2 separate regions of the Homo sapiens genome follow, and region 1 is linked to region 2. The links are contacts of gene promoters, found by promoter capture Hi-C in human tissues and cell types (Jung and others, 2019). All regions are on one chromosome and are shown on one strand. The core of a region is centred on a gene start or on the middle of the fragment in contact, and the rest is flanking DNA. Distances in the headings are between cores, read along the strand shown. Region 1 has its middle 7.9 kb from the start of SCRT2. Region 2 holds the start of SOX12 (SRY-box transcription factor 12).

The links. Contacts are between HindIII fragments. The study calls those that stand out against the background at their distance.
Region 1: a fragment that was not itself captured here is called in contact with the fragment with the promoter of SOX12 in region 2 in 1 of the 25 tissues and cell types used here (lymphoblastoid cells).

What each region holds. Positions count from the first base shown.
Region 1 is chr20:682,376-685,075 of GRCh38, forward strand. No RefSeq gene overlaps it. Among named protein-coding and RNA genes, the nearest start is that of SCRT2, 7.9 kb to the left of the region's middle. RefSeq lists a silencer at 2,630-2,700. The HindIII fragment of the contact is 3,071 bases long and covers 1-2,700 here.
Region 2 is chr20:324,230-326,929 of GRCh38, forward strand. SOX12 (SRY-box transcription factor 12) reads left to right here and starts at 1,323. Exons shown (of 1, transcript NM_006943.4): 1 at 1,323-2,700. The coding sequence starts at 1,696. The coding sequence ends at 2,643. It overlaps NRSN2-AS1 (NRSN2 antisense RNA 1), which reads right to left and starts at 1,023. Exons shown (of 3, transcript NR_109990.1): 1 at 913-1,023. RefSeq lists silencers at 193-452, 1,013-1,322, 1,433-1,812, 1,883-1,942, 1,963-2,452. The HindIII fragment of the contact is 5,512 bases long and covers 1-2,700 here.

The DNA.
Region 1 (2,700 bases), core at 32-2,531, 360 kb after region 2:
CACAAAGAGGTTAAGTAAGTTGCCCAAGGTTTCACAGCCAGTAGGTGATAAGCCACAAATCCAACCCAGGCAAGCTGCTTGGAGGCTCTGCTCTGACCACTCCACCACACTGCCTCCTCTCCAGCTGCAAATGCCTTGGTGGCAATTTCTGGGACCATTTCCATTTTCATTTTTCATTGGCTCAGGACCTCACAGCCTTAACAGGAAGGGGCCTACTGTGGTGGCTGGGGGCATAGCAGGGTCCCAGCTCCCCCTGAAGCTTCTACCTTGCTCCCTCAAAGACTTCCACCTCAAAGCCTTTGCATATATTGTTCCCACTGCCCAGAGCACTCTTCCACCCCCTTCCTTGCCTAGGTAACCCCTCCTCCCATCGCTCCCTTGCCTGACCCCAGGATCTAGCCCAGGATAGGGGTGATATGTAGTGGAAAGGAGCTAGTTGACATTTATTGAGCACTTATTATGTGCTAGGAGCCAAGTCCAGCCCTTTACATAGATTGCCTCACTTAACCATCATAACAACCTGTGAGTGTGGCCCATGGCTATCCCCATTTTACAGATGAGGAAACCAAGGCTCACAGATGCAAGGTGACTTGCCCAAGGAGACCCAGCTAGGAATCAGTGGTGTCAGTATTTAAACCAGGCTGCCTGGCTACAAAGTCCTGATCTTAAACCATGAGTCCTTCCCTCTAAGAGGGCAAAAGATACCAATGCTAGGGTGGGTAGGTGAGGGCCCTCCAAAGAATGTCCCTCCCCTTCCCCCTGCCAGGGCTGACAGCTCCTTGAGTGGGATTCCGGATCTGCTCCATTCATTGCCGCACCTCCATCGTCTACCCAGAGCCGGGTAAATAGTAAGTGCTCAGTAAATACATCAATTGAATGAATAAACTAATGAGTGAAAAACCTTCTTGCGACCCGCAGTCACCTTGGTCCCCTTTGACCAGAGCCAGGTTGACGTGTCAACCGTCAAGATATCCCTCTGTTTTGGGTGATAATTAGATTTCTATCTTGACTGTTACAGACATTGGTATTCCTCCATTAAAATGTCTTTCTTTCAGGCCAGGTCCGGTGGCTCACGCCTGTAATCCCAACACTCTGGGGGGCCGAGGCGGGTGGATCACCTGAGTTCAGGAGTTCGAGACCAGACTGGCCAACATGGTGAAACCCTGTCTCTACTAAAAATACAAAAATCAGCTGGGCATGATGGGGCGTGCCTGTGATCCCAGCTACTCAGGAGGCTGAGGCATGAGAATCGCTTGAACCTGGGAGGAGGAGGTTGCAGTGAGCCAAGACTGCGCCACTGCACTCCAGCCTAGGTGATGGAGTGAGACTCTGTCTTAAAAAAAAAAAAAAAAGAAAGAAAGAAAAGAAAAAAAGTCTTTCTTTCAAAGTTGGAGACATCCCTAAACATTCTAACTCCTGTCCCTGACAAGGTCCCATCTTAAGCAGGTCTCTGAAACCTCTGGAAGAAGGAATTGGCTATCAGGAGTCTGATCACCAGGCTGCCTGCGGGGTCAGGGTATTTGGGGTGGGCCTCTGGCATGGTTTAGCGGTGGGCTGGCCAAAAGCCCCTAGACAAGAGCCCACCATTCAAGCAAGTGGGATAACTCAGCGTTTGGGCCTGGGTCACCCTGAGCCAAGTTTTATTTTTTATTTTTATTTTGTAGAGGTAGGGTCTTGCTCTCATCCAGGCTGTAGTGCAGTGTTGTGATCATGGCTTATGGCAGCCTTGAACTCCTGGGGTCAAGTGATCCTCCTCCCTCAGCCTCCTGAGCAGCTGGGACTACAGGTGCATGCCACCATGCCCTGGCTAATTTTTAAACTCTTTGTAGAGATGGGATTTTGCTATACTTCCCAGACTGGTCTCAAACTCTTGGCCTCAAGTGATCCTCACGCCTCGGCCTCCTAAAGTGCTGGGATTATAGATGTGAGCCACTGTACCTGGCTGAGCCAAATTTTAATCCTGGCTCTGCCTCTTCAAGCTGGTTGGCCCTGGGCAAGTTACTTTGCCTCTTTGCAGCTCTATTTCATCTCTGTAAACAGAGGCCAGTGGGAGCACCTGCTAAGTAGGGCTGTAGGGGGCTTCATGTATAGTCAGCCCTTGGTAAGTGGGAGCTCTACTTGAAGGGCCTTTGAGATAACAGCATTGTCTCCTCCCCACCCCCATTTGACAGTTGTGGAACCTGAGGCATGGGACAGGGAAATGCTTTCCCTGGAACATTCAGGCTCCCTGCCAAGTCAGGATGGGCTTCCTCACTCCAAGGTGGCCTCTCTTGCCTCCCTCTCTTCCCCACCAGCCGAGCTCAGAACCATGCCTGGGAGATGCTGAGGTGGCAATGGAGCTGCAGAGTTGGCATTTCCAGGCTCCCAGGACTCCTGGCACAGAGGAATCAACCCCTCTCAGCAGCCCCGGCTCTGCCTCCTGCTCCCTGCCTCTGCTCATATACCAGCTGGGACTCATCAGCTTCTAGAGAAAGCCAGGAGGTGGCCCAGGTGCATGGAGGCAGGGGGCTGTCAATATTGACCTGTGCTTGACCGCAGACTTTGCCAGTGGACAGGTTGCTAAGGAGTCAGAATGTCCACATGCCCCTAGTGCTCATCTTCCTAGCCTCCCATCTCACCTAGCTGCAGAGGGGGAGGGGGAGCACAAGAGTTGAAAGCGTGGATGATCTGGGTTCACTTCGGCTGCTTACCAACAAGTTA
Region 2 (2,700 bases), core at 73-2,572:
ACACCCTCAAGCTCGGCTCTTGGCCTTCGCTCGTCCAGAAGTGGGTGAGCTGTACCGCCAGAGGCGCATTCTCCTAGCCCCAAACCATGCCCGCTACGCCCCAGCGGAATGCCACCTTAAAGACCCTAATCCGGGCACCTCCCAGCTCCTGCTTCCCAAGGGCGAGGCCTCAGCGCCCCCTCCCATCGCCCATGCTCACGACGCCGTGAAGGTGACCTCCCCCAGGGGCGGCACACGCCCAGTGGTGCCCGAACTGGCTCACACGTGGTGAGCCGGGAGCGCGCGGCCCCTCCCCGCCACGCGCCTCGTGCCGGCCACCCGGCCACGCCCCCAGGACTGGCTCCGCCCCGTGCCCCTGCACGCTTCTCCAGGCTTGGGTGGGGCGACGCGCCCAAGTCGGGCACCGGGCAGGCTACGGGGTGGGGTAGGACCTGGGAATGGCGCACCCACGCATCCTCGAATGTCGCCTGCGGTTTGTGAAAAGCGGGAAGTCCGCCCAGCTCAGGACCTTTGGCTGGCAGGCGAGGTGCCCCGCGGCCCTTGGTGCTGAGCAGGGGAGAGACAGCTGGGACCGCGAGCCTGGGAATCGAATCCTAGTCTGCGTGTCCTCGGTGCTTCCTATTTGGAAACTGGGCATCATATTATCATATTCCCTTCTCCCTCCGGATTCTTATGGAGCTTCGAACGAGATTAAATATACATATATATGAGAAAGGGATTTGTTCACTAGGTCCAAAAGCATTTGCTGGTCCCATATGTGGTCGGACCCTGTGTGTAGTAGGCGGGGGGCAACATCTACGACAACCTGAGTTCGTCCCCTTAAGAAGCTTTCCTGAGTCTTGGGCCCCCCAAATTCTCTTCTGGGATGGTCCGAAAAGACGTCCCTGAAAGAGGAAAGGGCGGAAATCCTACCTGACGGCAGGTGTCTCGGAATGAGCTAAAATTTAAAAGGCAACGCGGGGCAGGGACAAGCGTCCAGCGTCAGATGGAAGCAGGCTCGCGTCCCCTACCCTTCCTCCAACCCCTAACCTAAGAAAAGAAACCGATCTCGCCGGTCTCCCCCAATCCTAGCCGCGAGACCGCCCAGCCCCGCAGCCCGAGCCCCGCCCCGCTCCGGCGGCCAGCGATTGGGAGATGCAAATACCGGCTTCTCTGCCCAGCAACGGGTGACGCGGCGCCCGAGCGCGAGGCGGGGCCCGGCCGCAGCCCAAGCGGGCACCTCGGTGTTTACACGGGGCGGCCCCGCGCGCGCCGCAGCGGCCCGCAGACGGCGAGGGGGAGGGGTGGTGCGCGCGCCGGCGGGGCCGCGCGGGGAGAAAGACACTGAAAGGCGTCGGCGGCCGGGCGGGGAGCGGCGCGCGCGGGCCGCGGCGGAGCCAGAGGCTGCAGGAAGAGCCCGCGGGGGCCCGGAGGGTGCGATTCCTCGGCCCCCGCAAAACAATGTGTGTTGTGAGCCAGGACGCAACTTGCCGGAGGCGGCGGGGGCGCGCCGAGCCCGCCTGAGACCGCGCTGACCTTCTCCCCCCGCCGTCCGTTGGGCCCGAGCGCCCAGCTCCTCGCTCCCCAGTTCGCGGGGGCCGGGCCGAGCCGCGGGGCGGGGCCGCCCCTCCGTCGCCGCTGCCTCCTCCCCCACCCCCAGCCGCGGAGGATGCGGACGGCCCCCGGCGGCGTCTAGCGGCCCCGGGCCCAGGCGCGATGGTGCAGCAGCGGGGCGCGAGGGCCAAGCGGGACGGCGGGCCGCCGCCCCCGGGACCCGGGCCGGCCGAGGAGGGGGCGCGCGAGCCCGGCTGGTGCAAGACCCCGAGCGGCCACATCAAGAGGCCGATGAACGCATTCATGGTGTGGTCGCAGCACGAACGGCGGAAGATCATGGACCAGTGGCCCGACATGCACAACGCCGAGATCTCCAAGCGCCTGGGCCGCCGCTGGCAGCTGCTGCAGGACTCGGAGAAGATCCCGTTCGTGCGGGAGGCGGAGCGGCTGCGGCTCAAGCACATGGCGGATTACCCGGACTACAAGTACCGGCCGCGCAAAAAGAGCAAGGGGGCGCCCGCCAAGGCGCGGCCCCGCCCCCCCGGTGGTAGCGGTGGCGGCAGCCGGCTCAAGCCCGGGCCGCAGCTGCCTGGCCGCGGGGGCCGCCGAGCAGCGGGAGGGCCTTTGGGGGGCGGGGCGGCGGCGCCCGAGGACGACGATGAAGACGACGACGAGGAGCTGCTGGAAGTGCGCCTGGTCGAGACCCCGGGGCGGGAGCTGTGGAGGATGGTCCCGGCGGGACGGGCCGCTCGGGGACAAGCGGAGCGCGCCCAAGGGCCGTCGGGCGAGGGGGCGGCCGCCGCCGCCGCCGCCTCCCCGACACCGTCGGAGGACGAGGAGCCGGAGGAAGAGGAGGAGGAGGCGGCAGCGGCTGAGGAAGGTGAAGAGGAGACGGTGGCGTCGGGGGAGGAGTCGCTGGGCTTTCTGTCCAGGCTGCCCCCTGGCCCGGCCGGCCTGGACTGCAGCGCCCTGGATCGCGACCCGGACCTGCAGCCTCCCTCGGGCACGTCGCACTTCGAGTTCCCGGACTACTGCACCCCCGAGGTTACCGAGATGATCGCGGGGGACTGGCGCCCGTCTAGCATCGCAGACCTGGTTTTCACCTACTGAGCCCACCGTCAGCGGGGCGCGCACGCCCCCAAACCAGCTGTTTACATACAGGAATCA